2 separate regions of the Homo sapiens genome follow, and region 2 is linked to region 1. The links are contacts of gene promoters, found by promoter capture Hi-C in human tissues and cell types (Jung and others, 2019). All regions are on one chromosome and are shown on one strand. The core of a region is centred on a gene start or on the middle of the fragment in contact, and the rest is flanking DNA. Distances in the headings are between cores, read along the strand shown. Region 1 holds the start of MRPL4 (mitochondrial ribosomal protein L4). Region 2 overlaps TYK2 (tyrosine kinase 2).

Region 1 (6,767 bases), core at 1,728-4,227:
AAAATACACAATGAAATACACTATACTTTTTGTTTTCTTTCTTTCTTTTTTTTTTTTTTTTTTGAGACAGAGTCTCACTCGTCGCATGGGCTGGAGTGCGGTGCGGGATCTCGGCTCACTGCAACCTCTGCCTCCTGGGTTGAAGCGATTCTCCTGCGTCAGCCTCCCGAGTAGCTGGGATTACAGGTGCCCGCCACTACGCCCAGCTAATTTTTTTGTATTTTTAGTAGAGATAAGGTTTCACCATGTTGGCCAGGCTGGTCTCGAACTCCTGACTCGTGATTCGCCCACCTTGGCCTCCCAAAGTGCTGGGATTACAGGCGTGAGCCACCGCACCCGGCCACATTTTTTTTTTTTTTTTTTTGAGACAGGATCTTAGTCTGTCACCCAGGCTGGAGTACAGTGGCATGAACATGGCTCACTGCAGCCTCAATCTCTTGGGTTCAGGTGATCCTTCTGCCTTAGCCTCCCCATTAGCTGGGACCACAGGCATATACCATCACACCTAGCTAATTTTTAAATTTTTGGTAGAGGCCAGGCGCGGTGGCTCACGCCTGTAATCCCAGCACTTTGGGAGGCCGAGTCGGGTGGATCACCTGAGGTCGGGAGTTCGAGACCAGCCTGGCCAAAATGGTGAAACCCTGTCTCTACTAAAAATAAAAAATAAAAATAAAAATTAGCTGGGCGTAGTGGCGGGCGCCTGTAATCCCAGCTACTCGGGAGGCTGAGGCAGGAGAATCGCTTGAACCCAGGAGGCAGAGGTTGCAGTGAGCCAAGATCGCGCTACTGCACTCCAGCCTGGGCAACAGAGTGAGATTCTGTCTCAAAAAAAAAATAATAATAATGCTATTTATTGACTTTACACCTTGTACCAGGCATGGGAAGCTTTGCCTCCATTACGTCACTGAATCTCATAACCTCCTTTTCCAGCAGAGGAAAATGAGGTTGGTTCACAGACCACGTTGTCAGCTGTGCTCTGTCCAGAACGCACTGGCCTCCAAGTAGACAGCCCTGGACTGGTAGGGAAGCCGGCTATGATCCGGTGGCGCCCCCTGGAGGTCTATCGGGAACATGGTAAAGAACCTAAAAATGGGTGGGCCACAGTAGCTCATGCCTGTAATCCCAGCACTTTGGGGGACCAATGCGGGAGAATTGCTTGAGCCCAGGAGTTCAAGACCAGCCTGGGCAACATTGGGAGACCCACCCCCCGCCATCTCTACAAAAAAAAAATTAGGCCGGGCGCGGTGGCTCAGGCCTGTAATCCCAGCACTTTGGGAGGCCGAGGCGGGTGGATCACCTGAGGTCAGGAGTTCAAGACCAGCCTGGCCAACGTGGTGCCACACTGTCTCTAATAAAAACACGAAAATTAGGGCCGGGCTCGGTGGCTCACGCCTGTAATCCCAGCACTTTGGGAAGCCGAGGCGGGCGGATCACGAGGTCAGGAGATTGAGACCATCCTGGCTAACACGGTGAAACCCCCTCTCTACTAAAAATACAAAAAGTTAGCCAGGTGTGGTGGCGGGCGCCTGTAGTCCCAGCTACTCGGTAAGCTGAGGCAGGGAATCGCTTGAACCCGGGAGGCCGAGATGTGCGATCTCACACCACTGCACTCCGGCCTGGGCGACAGAGCGATACTCCATCTCAAAATACAAATACAAAATAAAAAAATACAATACAAAAATGAGCCGGGCTTGCGTACCTGTAGACCAGCTACTCAGGAGACAGAGGCAGGAGAATCCCTTGAGCTCTGGAGGTCGAGGCTGCAGTAAGCCATGATCTTGCCCATTGCACTCCAGCCTGGGCGACAGAGGAAGACCTTGTCTCTAAAAACCAAAACAAAGAAACTAAAAATAAGCATTCGGATTTGTTAGGGGGCGACAAGGGAGGCACTCCAGGATCTGTGGACTCCCCACTTTGTTCTGTCCTTGGAGAGCCCTGGAAGGTCTGAGAGGGGACGGGACCTGGTTTAAGGGGGTAGGGGAGAGGACCCTGGTCTAGGGGGTAAGGGACACAAATACCTAATCTGAGGGGTTTCGGGGGGACATGGCCCTGCCCTGGGGAATCTAAACTGGGAGGCATGGTCTGGCAGGCCCAATCCTGAAGGCTTTCTGAGGGCAATAAGGCCCTGCCTTTAAACAAATGAAAAAACGCCAGGCACGGTGGCTCACGCCTGTAATCCCAGCACTTTGGAAGGCTGAGGCGGGAGGATCACGAGGTCAGGAGATCGAGACCATCCTGGCTAACGCGGTGATACCCGTCTCTACTAAAAATACAAAAAATTAGCCAGGCGTGGTGGCGGGCGCCTGCAGTCCCAGCTACTCGGGAGGCTGAGGCAGGAGAATGGCGTGAACCCAGGAGGCGGAGCTTGCAGTGAGCCGAGATCGCGCCACTGCACTCCAGCCTGGGCAACAGAGCAAGACTCCGTCTCAAAAAAAACAAAAACAAAAACAAAAACAAAAACAAAAAAACAAATAAAAAAACAAAACCACATAACTGGATAAAGAAAAAACCATCTCCGACAGCCTTGGAGGCGGGATGAAGGCGTGGCCCGGTGGGCGTGACCAACAGCAAAAGTTTAAGCGTTATTGGCTGTATTCCTTAGTTGCTCACTCCAGAACTGCCCACTTATGGGCGGGGGTCACTCCTTCAGGCTTAACAGTCATTGGCTGAATTGGGCCAGAGAGGTCTCATTGGCTGAATTCCTGCACCGGCTCGTCGGAGGCGGGACCCAAAGTAGGCTAGGCCTACGGAAGCTGGGTCTTCTTGCTGTGAGGTCGCGTTCCCCAGTGTTACGGAGGGTCCTTGAGGCAGGAGTGAAAATTGGGTCTGGGGGTTAGTCCTGGGGTGGAGGTCTGGGCACGCCGGGTCGGACCCCCTCCATCTTCGGTTTTGCACACCCCGCTTTCCAGCGCGGAGTCGCGGCGGGTAGGGCGGCGTCGCGTGCGTGACGTCATCCAGCGGCGCCTCGCGAGGCTCCAGTGGCCTTGACCTCCCGCGGCGTGGGAGGCTGCGCGGCGATGCTGCAGTTCGTCCGGGCCGGGGCGCGGGCCTGGCTTCGGCCTACCGGCAGCCAGGTGAGGCCAGGGGCTGGAGGCGTGGTCGAAGGATGAAATTTGGGGGTGTCCAGGGGTCGTCTCTCACTTTCGCCCAACCCTTGCAGGGCCTGAGTTCCCTGGCGGAAGAGGCAGCGCGTGCGACCGAGAACCCGGAGCAGGTGGCGAGCGAGGGTAAGGCAACCGGGGTGGCTCCAGGAGGGGCGGCGACAGAGAGGTCTGACCCTTGACCCTAACCTCTGACCCCCGCAATCGCTCCAGGTCTCCCGGAGCCCGTGCTGCGCAAAGTCGAGCTCCCGGTACCCACTCATCGACGCCCAGTGCAGGCCTGGGTCGAGTCCTTGCGGGGCTTCGAGCAGGAGCGCGTGGGCCTGGCCGACCTGCACCCCGATGTTTTCGCCACCGCGCCCAGGTGAGCGAGGGCTGTAATGGTGAACTGAGTGGCAGAGGGATGAAGAGCGGGATTTCAGGAGTCACGATGACTTTGGGCTTGTACCCTTGGGAAAGTGCTGTATTTCTACAGCCTCCGTTTCTCCACCTGTCAAAGGGGAATGATGACAGTTTCCCCTGCTGTAGCGCTGTGTGAGATTGAAGCCTGAGAGGTGACATCATCTAAGGGTTAGGGAGACAGAATTCTGGAGCCCGACTGATTAGGTTCAAATCCTGCCTTCCCCTCTTGTCCCTCAGTGTCCCTATTTTGTCAGCGGTCGGGAGGTTGCTGTGATGAATAAATGACTTAATTCTGGCACATAATAAGTTCTATAGAAATGTTGATAATCTTTGTTAACTGGTTTTTGCAAATAAGAGCACTAAAAAGACTAAACCATTCCTCGGTGCCTGGAAGAGGCTGTTTGCATTTTAGTTACCCTGCTGTTCATAACATCTCTAAGAAAATGTAGGGGCCACCCTGGGCGCAGTGGCTCACGCCTGTAATCCCAGCACTTTGGGAGGCCAAGGCGGGCGGATCACGAGGTCAGGAGATCGAGACCATCCTGGCTAACATGGTGAAACCCCGTCTCTACTAAAAATACAAAAAAAAATTAGCCGGGCGTGGTGGCGGGCGTCTGTAGTCCCAGGTACTCTGGAGGCTGAGGCAAGAGAATGGCGTGAACCCGGGAGGCGGAGCTTGCAGTGAGCCGAGATCGCGCCACTGCACTCCATCCTGGGCAACACTCTGTCTCAAAAAAAAAAAAAAAAAAGAAAGAAAAGAAAATGTAGGGGCCAGTTACTGTGGCTCACATCTGTAATCCCAGCACATTGGGAGGCCGAGGTGGGCGGATCACTTGAAACCAGGAGTTGCAGACCAGCCTGGCCAACATGATGAAACCCCGTCTCTACCAAAAATACAAAAATTAGCCGGACGTCTTAGTGCAAGCCTGTAGTCCCAGCTACTCAGGAGGCTGAGGCATGAGAATCGCTTGCACCTGGGGAGATGGAGGTTGCAGTGAGCCGTGATTATACTACTGCACTCCAGCCTGGGCGACAGAGACAGACTCCATCTCAAAAAAAAAAACAGGTGAAATTGATTTCAATAATGTATTTAACCTGTATTTAAAACTATGTCGAAATCACATTGTAGCATGGGGCACTGGCCATGTTTCAGATGTTGAGTATGTGACTGTATGGAATGGTATAGAACTAGAGAGGAAAACCAGTCCCTGAAGAAGGTGGCAATAAGTGAAGTGTAATAGCAGGAAAAAAGTAATGGTAGGAAAAACAAGGAAGAAGGGGTGGCTTTTTTTTTCTGAGATGAAGTTTCGCTCTTGTCGCCCAGGCTGGAGTGCAATGGCATGCTCTCAGCTCACTTCAACCTCCGCCTCCTGGGTTCTACTAATTCTCATGCCTCAGCCTCCCGAGTAGCCAGAATGACAGACATGTACCACCGTGCCCAGCTAATCTTTGTATATTTTGGAGAGACATCACTTTGCCATGTTGCCCAGGCTGGTCTTACTCCTTGCCTCAAGTGATCCACCTGCCTTGGCCTCCCAAAGTGCCAGGATTCCAGGCATGAGCCACTGCACCTGGTCAGGGTGGCTCTTTCTTTAGAAGGTACCTTTCAGCAGTTATTGGAGCTGCTACCTGTAGGCTGAGAAAGAACCATCCAGGAGAAGAGTGTTTCAGGCAGAGGGAACAGCAAGTGCCAAGGCCCTGAGGCAGAATTTCAAGATGGGGTCAGTGAGGGGCAGAGGCAAATCGCCCAGGGCCCTGGAGGCAGAAGGGAGAATCCTGGGTTTTCCTATAGTGGGGTGGGAGCGTTTGAAGCAGAGTTGGGCTTCTCATGTGTCCTTCCTCCCCGCAGGCTGGACATACTGCACCAGGTTGCTATGTGGCAGAAGAACTTCAAGAGAATTGTGAGTGCCTAAATGGAGCAAGGTGGTGGGAAGGAGCTTCCTGGGGAGGTTGGGGATAGGACCCAGAGGAAGCCCATCGCTGGGTTTTCTCTGGACTGCTCGGCTGGGGCCTCATCTGTCTCCTGAACTATTCACCGATGGGTCCATTTTTGGTTCTCTTTTTTTTGTTTGTTTTTGAGATGGAGATGGAGTCTCACTCTGTCACCCAGGCTGGAGTGCAGTGGCGCAATCTTGGTTCACTGCAACCTCCGCTTCCTGGGTTCAAGCGATTCTCCTGCCTCTGCCTCCTGAGTAGCTGGGATTACAGGTGTGCACCACCATGCAGGCTAATTTTTGTATTTTTAGTAGAGATGGAGTTTCACCATGTTGGTCAGGCTGGTCTCAAACTCCTGACCTCAAGGAACCTACCTGCCTTGGCCTCCCAAAGTGCTGGGATTACAGGCGTGAGCCACCGTGCCCAGCTCATTTTCAGTTGTTTTCTGATCACTCACTGATGTGGGCATTGTGGTGGGTGAGAGGATATAGCAGGGACCACGAGGACAAAACAGGCAAGGTCCGGCTGTGTGCAAGTGGCTCAGGCCTGTAATCCCAGCACTGGAAGCTGAGGTGGGTGGGTTGCTTGGGGCCAGGAAAGACCAGCCTGGGAAACAGCAAGACCCAGTCTCTACCCCTTCCCCCACAACCCCAAGAAAAAGATGGGCAAAGTCCCTATTCTAATGAAGGTCACAGTGTCATGGGAGGAGAAGTGAAGGTGAGTCAGATGGTCATACGTAATGTGTAATTATGAGCATGTCCCAGAGAATGGGACGTTCAACCTTGGGTCTACTGTAGAAGCTAACCAGATCAAGGAGGCAGTGGGGCTAGTGTGGAGATAACAGGAACAGGGTGTGCAAAGGCCCTGTGGCAGGGACCACAAGGAAGCCAGTGTTGCCACAGAGGCCAGTGGGAGCAGTGGGGAGGAGTCTGGGTTTTGTGCCAAGAACATTGAAGAATCCATTACCAGTCAGGGTCTTATCCATCCACCCCAGAGGTCTGGCCAGTCCTCCCCCTGCTCACACCTTCCCTGGCTCCCCATCACCCTAGGAATAAAGTCATCAGTCTGCTATTCTGAGTTCTTCCTGATTTCCTTGCCCTGCTCCTCTTTCCTGATTCTCCCTGTCTGTGTCATTTCCCATGGCCCTCCCTCCTTGTGGCTACAACCACATTAAAATTGTTCAAAAAATAGGCCGGCACGGTGGCTCACACCTGTAATCTCAGCACTTTGGGAGGCCAAGGCAGGTGGATCACTTGAGGCCAGGAGTTCCAAACCAGCCTAGTCAACGTGGCAAAACCCCATCTCTACTGAAAATACAAAAAATTAGCT
Region 2 (6,767 bases), core at 1,604-4,103, 110 kb after region 1:
GTCACCCAGGCTGGAATGCAATGGCGTGATCTCAGCTTATTGCAACCTCTGCCCACCTGGGTTCAAGCAATTCTCTTGCCTCAACACCTCAACCTCCCGAGTAGCTGGGATTACAGGTCCCTGCCACCATGCCCAGCTAATTTTTATATTTTTAGTACAGAGGGGGTTTCACCATGTTAGCCAGCCTGGTCTCAAATTCCTGACCTCAGCTGATCTGCCAGCCTCAGCCTCCCAAAGTGCTGGGATTACAGGCATGAGCCACTGTGCCCGGCTACCTGATCTCTCTTTTTTTTTTTTTTTTTTTTGAGACAGGGTCTTGCTCTGTTGCCCAGGCTGGAGTGCAGCGGTGCAATCTTGGCTCACTTCAGCCTGGACCTCCCAGGCTCAAGAGATTCTCCCACCTCAGCCTCCTGAGGAGCCAGGATTACAGGTGTGCCCAGCTAATTTTTGTGTTTTCTGTAGTTAAAAGACCTTGCTACATTGCCCAGGCTGCTCTTGAACTCCTGGGCTCAAGTGATTCTCCCACCTCGGCCTCCTAAAGCGCTGGGATTACAGGTGTGAGCCACCACACCCAGCCTACTCCTACTCTTGTACTTGACGCCAGACGGGCCCTGACAAGGTGACACACACTCCAAGATTGGAAACAGCCATCAGGAGCCGGATGGGCACACACCCAGCCATGACCATCGCCACTCACAAGGGTGACACACGGTGGATGGCCAATCACACAAGCAAAGGACAACGATCCCAGACACAACTAATCACCCAATATGACAGGGCAACATAGGGGCCAGGGCATCCCAGACACAGAGGTGACACAAACATGCACTATAAAGTGTCATGGTCACATAGGTCCAGACACCTACATGTGCAGTGGCTGACACACGTGGTCCCCAAACACCTGTCTGTACGGGGGCAGCACACATATAGCCTTGACAGCAGGCACGGCCACAGGCCTCACAAGGTGAAATGGCCACTTCCCCCTCCCCTGGCATCACAGGTAGGACAAGGGACAGAGAGTCACAGGGCCAGTGACCAGACAAAGAGACAGTCACAAATCACGACTTGGCAGCACACAGGACAGCCACACACTCCCCTGCACCTGATGATGACATAAGTACCGACAACTTCACGCCCTCAGGCCCACAAGTCACACACAGGACCCCGCTGAGATGGTGACTCACAAGTTACCAGCACAGGCAGCCGCCTGCAGAGGTGGAAGCATCCAACATACGCCTGAATGGTCACCAGCGTCAGGGTAACACACAGTCCCATGAAAATCACCAGTTCTGTGCAATGACAACCTCAACACACAATGACAGTCATGGCCGGGCGTGGTGGCTCATGCCTGTAATACCAGCACTTTGGGAGGCCGAGGCGGGTGGATCACCTGAGGTCAGGAGTTCAAGACTAGGTTGGCCAATCTGATGAAACCCCATCTCTACAAAAATACAAAAATTAGCCTGGCATGGTGGCGAGTGCCTGTAGTCCCAGGTAGTCAGTTGGGAGGCTGAGGCAGGAGAATCGCTTGAACCCGGGAGGCGGAGGCTGCAGTGAGCTGAGATCATGCCACTGCACTCCAGTTTGGGCGACAAAAAATAAAAAAAAAATAAGACGTGCACCTACACACACACCCTGCACAGCCCCTAGGGCTCACAGTCTAGTTGGCACCCTTGGCGGTGGCCCCCAGCGCCCCCCACCCAGCACTCACAGCAGGGGTCCGTGGATCCCATCCCGGATGCTCATCACCAGCCGTGGGGGAGCCACCTCGTGGCACAGGTAGTGGCTGGAGTCGGCCGTCAGGCGGAAATAGCCGTCCACCAGCGACACGAAGGACAGCGCCGCAGCCCGGGAAGGCAAGCTCAGCTCCTGCCAGCCAGGGGCGCATCAGGTGGGTGTCCTCCCAGGCCATGATGGGCCCTAGCCCAGCCCCTACCCTGGGCCTCACCAGGCACTTGTTGTCCTGCCGGTGGATGCTGACACAGTGCTCTTTCAGCACCACGTGGGTGATGTCCCGGAAGTCACAGAAGTAGGCCCACAGTGGCTCCCGCGGCCTGTCTGCCGGCTGGCCGACTGCCTTGTGAGCCTTGGCCTTCTTCCCAAACAGGCTGGCTTGGGGGTTCCTGCCACTGCTGCCACTAGAACCCTGAACACCCAGCAAGTGGGGCAGAGGATGGAGAGGGCAATGCCCGTTTATACCTCCTGCACTTTCCCCTGGGGAGAGACTGGAGCCAGAAGGGCCAGGCACCAACCTAGGTTGACCTCCCAAGTCCCAGTGTCACAGGTGGGATGGGGACCCACCCCAAAATCATACACATGCTGGAAGCCGGACCCTTAGGGAAGGCAGAGAGAAGAATCCTGACCCCCTCACACCCAGGTGCCAGTCCCCAGATGAAGGGGTTCCCTGGAGGTGCAGACCCCAGAAATAAGGTCCCCAGGGGGTAAGCAGATGGAGGACCTTCTCCAAGAAACTGGCCCTAGCGGACAGGTGCCCCAGAGCCATGTGGGGAGAGGGCTCAGGTCAGCCACCCTCAGAGGCTAGGGTCAAGGATGAACACAGAAACCCACCCCAGCCCAACCTGAACCCCCAGGGCGGAAGGGGCGCCTTGCTCACCTCCTCCTTGTTCACCTCCTCCTCTACTGGCCACCACTGGATGCCACCAGTGCCTGTCACCAGCACCTCGTGGGTTGGGGGCCCAGCAGCAGACTCAGGGCCAGGGTCTGTAGGGGCCACCCCACTGTCCCGGATGTAGCAGGGCTCCCCCTCGGCCTGGGCCAGCAGCCTCAGGTGGCACACGGGCACACGCTCTGTGCCGAAGCGGGGTGCCAGCCGCTCGAGTGTGGCTAGGTATTTGACCATGACCATCTGCTGGGAGAGTCGGCCCGGCTGGAAGTCCCGCAGGAACCTGCGGAAGACGTTCCGAAGGCGCAGCCGGGTCAGGGCGCTGTGCTGCCGGATATGCCGGCGGAAGGAGCGCGGGATGCAGTCCTTGAAGCTGGGGGGAAACACAGTGAGGGGCTGGTCAGGGACCTGGGTTGCAGGCCCAGCTGGGTGACACAGGGCAAGTGGCTTAACCTCTTTGAGCCTCAGCTGCCTCATCTGGAAAACAGGCACACTAGCCAGGTGTGGTGACTTGAGCCTGTAGTCTCAGCTACTTGGGAAGCCAAGGCGGAAGGATCGCTTGAGGTCAGGAGTTCGAGACCAGCCTGGCCAACATGATGAAACTCAGTCTGTCTCTACTAAAAATACAAAAATTAGCTGGGCTTGATGGTGGGCACCTGTAATCCCAGCTACTCAGGAGGCTGAGGAAGGAGAATCTCTTGAACCTGGGACGCAGAGGTTGCAGTGAGCCAAGATTGCGCCACTGTACTCCAGCCTAGGTGACAGAGAGAGACTCCGGCTCAGAAAAAAAAAAAAGTAGAGGCACGGCAATATGCAAAGTCTACCCTGGCTCCCAGATGCTCAGGACATTTCCCCCTGCCTACACAGCGTCCCCACCCCATTCCCAGACACCTGGTCTTCTTGGCCACCTCCTCCAGGGGGATGCCATGGCGGAGAGCGAGGTGACAGAGGTGCAGAAAGGCCATGCCCAGGCTCTCATTCTTAAAGTGGTGGATCTCCTCCTCGGTCGACAGCTCCCACAGTGATGCCACGTCATTCACAAACTCATGCTTGCCCTGGGAACAGGAAATTGAGCAGAAAGGGAGGTGTGAGAATGCGTTCCTCTCTAGCCCAGAGGTATCCAATCTTCTGGCTACCCTGGACCACACTGGAAGAAGTGTCTTGGGCCCTACATAAAATACACTAACACTAATGATAGCTGATGAGCTAAAAAAAAAAAAAAAAAAAGAATATCGCAAGCCGGGCATGGTGGCTCACGCCTATAATCCCAGCACTTTGGGAGGCCAAGGCGGGCGGGTCACCTGAGGTCAGGAGTTTGAGACCAGCCTGACCAACATGGAGAAAACTCGCCTATACTAAAAATACAAAATTAGCCAGGTGTGGTGGCGCATGTCTGTAATCCCAGCTACTCCGGAGGCTGAGGCAGGAGAATCACTTGAACCTGGGAGGCAGAGGTTGCAGTGAGCTGAGATCATGACATTGCACTCCAGCCTGAGCAACAAGAATGAAACTCTGTCTCAAAAAAAAAAAAAAATCACAGCAAAATCTCAGAATATTTTAAGATAGTTTATGAATTTGTGTTGGGCTTCATTCAAAGCTGTCCTGGGCAGCATGCAGTCCGCAGGCCAGGGGTTGGACAAGCTTACTCTAGCCAGAGAACTCTAATTTCCTGCGTCTTACCACCTTGAGGAGGGGAGAGACCACCATTTACTGGAAAGGCCAAATACACAGCATACACCCCTCCTCTTGTCAATCTTGTGCCTGTGGCAGACATTACTAATCAATCACAGCACTCTATCCCCTTCAACCTGAACTCTTGGCTGGGCATGGTGGCTCACACCTATAATCCCACAATTTAGGAGGCTGAGGCAGGTGAATCACTTGAGGTCAGGAGTTTGAGACCAGCCTGGCCAACATGGTGAAACCCCGTCTTTACTAAAAATAGAAAAATTAGCCTGGGGTGGTGGCGGGCTTCTGTAATCTCAGTTACTTGGGAGGCTGAGGTGGAAGAATCGCTTCAACCTGGGAGGTGGAAGTTGCAGTGAGCTGAGATCACGCCACTGCACTCCAGCCTGGGCCACAGAGCAAGACTCCATTTCAAAAAAAAAAGATCGGCTGGGAGCGGTGGCTCACGCCTGTAATCCCAGCACTTTGGGAGGCCGAGGCGGGCAGATCACGAGGTCAGGAGATGGAGACCATCCTAGCTAACACTGTGAAACCCCGTCTCCACTAAAAATACAAAAAATTAGCTGGGCATGGTGGCGGGCGCCTGTAGTCCCAGCTACTTGGGAGGCTGAGGCAGGAAAATGACGGGAACCTGGGAGGCGGAGCTTGCAGTGAGCCGAGATCACATCACTGCACTTCAGCCTGGGCGACAGAGCAAGACTCCGTCTCAAAAAAAAAAAAAAGATCCCCAGATAGCATGAGTTGAAACCTATTAGCTATATTGAATCAGGGAGGGAAATGGGGGCTCCTCAACTGCCCCTAAGTCTCCCACAAATAGTCTTGCCACCCCAGCCCTGCTCATACCTGCTCAAAGAGGTACTCAAATGAGGCTGGGTCCAGGAGTTGCATCCCCTGTGCTGTCTGATCTGAGGATGCCTCGGTTCCTGGGGGCCCACAACGGTACACAGCCGGTTCCCGAGGATTCATGCCATGCCAGTTCCGGAAATAAAACCTGCAGGAAGGAGGGACGCAGCTGGGGCTTAGCACAGAGTCAGACCAGCTTCAGCACAGGAGGGGACGAGCTTTGCAAAGGTCTCCACCCACCTTATGCGGAAATATAGCATCAGGCTTGCATCTCTGGGGATCTCTAGGATGTGGTTTGGGGGCAACCAGACTTGGGCCTGAGCATCGAAGAGGGCAAAGAGATTGAAGCAAGGAGGAGTGATACCTGGATCAGGTGAGAAACGAGGTCAGGAGTCACGTCATTTGCTACCGTCAGCCCCAAAGACCCCCCAGACCCAATGTCTGCCTTCACACTCCCTCTGAGGCCCCCTCCCCCACCTGCAGCTTCAGTCTCACGTTGCCCCTGGGCAGAGGACAGTGCGTATGTTGCCCATGCTGTGGCCTCACAGGAGGACTACATTTCCCAGCCTCCCTTGCAGCTAGGATGGAGCCAATTGCACTGCTGGTTTCTGGCCAAAGGGCTGGGTACATTTCCAAGCCTGGAAATAAATTCTCTTGCCACCTTCACCACCCGAGGTATGATGAAGGCTTCTTGTGACAGATGGTGAAGCTGTAAGACAGAGGTGAACCATCCAACCTGTACTTGATTTTAAGTAAAACTTTTTTTTTTTTTTTGAGATGGAGTCTTGCTGTTGCCCAGGCTGGAGAGCAGTGACACGATCTTGGCTCGCTGCAACTTCCGCCTCCTGGGTTCAAGTGATTCTCCTGTCTCAGCCTCCTGAGTTGCTGGGATTACAGGTGTGCGCCACCAACCCCGGCTAGTTTTTGTATTTTTAGAAGAGACGAGGTTTCGCCATGTTGGCCAGGCTGGTCTCAAACTCCTGACCTCAGGTGATCTGCCCACCTTGGCCCCCCAAAGTGCTGAGATTACAGGCATGAGCCACTGTGCTCGGCCGATTTTAGGTAAACCTTGATTAAGATTTGGGGGGATTGCTTATTCCTGCAGCAAAACTAATCCTAGCCTGACCCACATAACTCTACAAACTGCTGCAATTGTCTGGCGTCTCCCTGAACTCCAGCCCCAAAGAAACATCCAGTCACCTCCTGGCTGTCTCCCCCTGGACATCACAGGCCCCCCCTTAGATATGGCTTGTTCCAAACAACATATCTTATCTGTGGTTGGCAAACTCCAACCTTCCCTTCCTCTGCCCTTTTTTTTTTAAGGGTCAGGGTCTTTCTTTGCCACCCAGGTTGCAGTGCAGTGGTGCAATCCTAGCTCACTGCAGCCTCAACCTCCAGGGCTCAAGCGATCCTCCCACCTCAATCTCTGGAGTTGATGGGATTATGGCTATGAGCCAGGGTGTGTGGCTTCTGCCCAGTTCTTCAAACCAGGAACTTGGTCCTTATCTTCAACCTCTCCCACCTGCTCCAAAACAGATCGGTCACCAAGACCTGCTCTTCCTGCACCCTCCATGTCCTGGGGCTCCATCCACCACCTTCAAATGCAAACCTCAAC

The links. Contacts are between HindIII fragments. The study calls those that stand out against the background at their distance.
Region 2: a contact is called between a fragment that was not itself captured here and the fragment with the promoter of MRPL4 in region 1, in 2 of the 25 tissues and cell types used here (lymphoblastoid cells and spleen).

The regions. Positions count from the first base shown.
Region 1 is chr19:10,249,237-10,256,003 of GRCh38, forward strand. MRPL4 (mitochondrial ribosomal protein L4) reads left to right here and starts at 2,978. Exons shown (of 9, transcript NM_015956.3): 1 at 2,978-3,074; 2 at 3,161-3,227; 3 at 3,315-3,465; 4 at 5,353-5,404. The coding sequence starts at 3,018. RefSeq lists a silencer at 914-963 and enhancers at 2,333-2,906, 2,361-2,510, 2,641-3,050, 2,907-3,480. The HindIII fragment of the contact is 13,002 bases long and covers 1-6,767 here.
Region 2 is chr19:10,362,903-10,369,669 of GRCh38, forward strand. TYK2 (tyrosine kinase 2) reads right to left here. Exons shown (of 25, transcript NM_003331.5): 4 at 5,393-5,516; 5 at 5,153-5,300; 6 at 3,515-3,678; 7 at 2,615-2,996; 8 at 1,949-2,146; 9 at 1,712-1,869. Among named protein-coding and RNA genes, the nearest start is that of TYK2, 14 kb to the right of the region's middle. RefSeq lists an enhancer at 1,156-1,656. The HindIII fragment of the contact is 7,383 bases long and covers 1-6,545 here.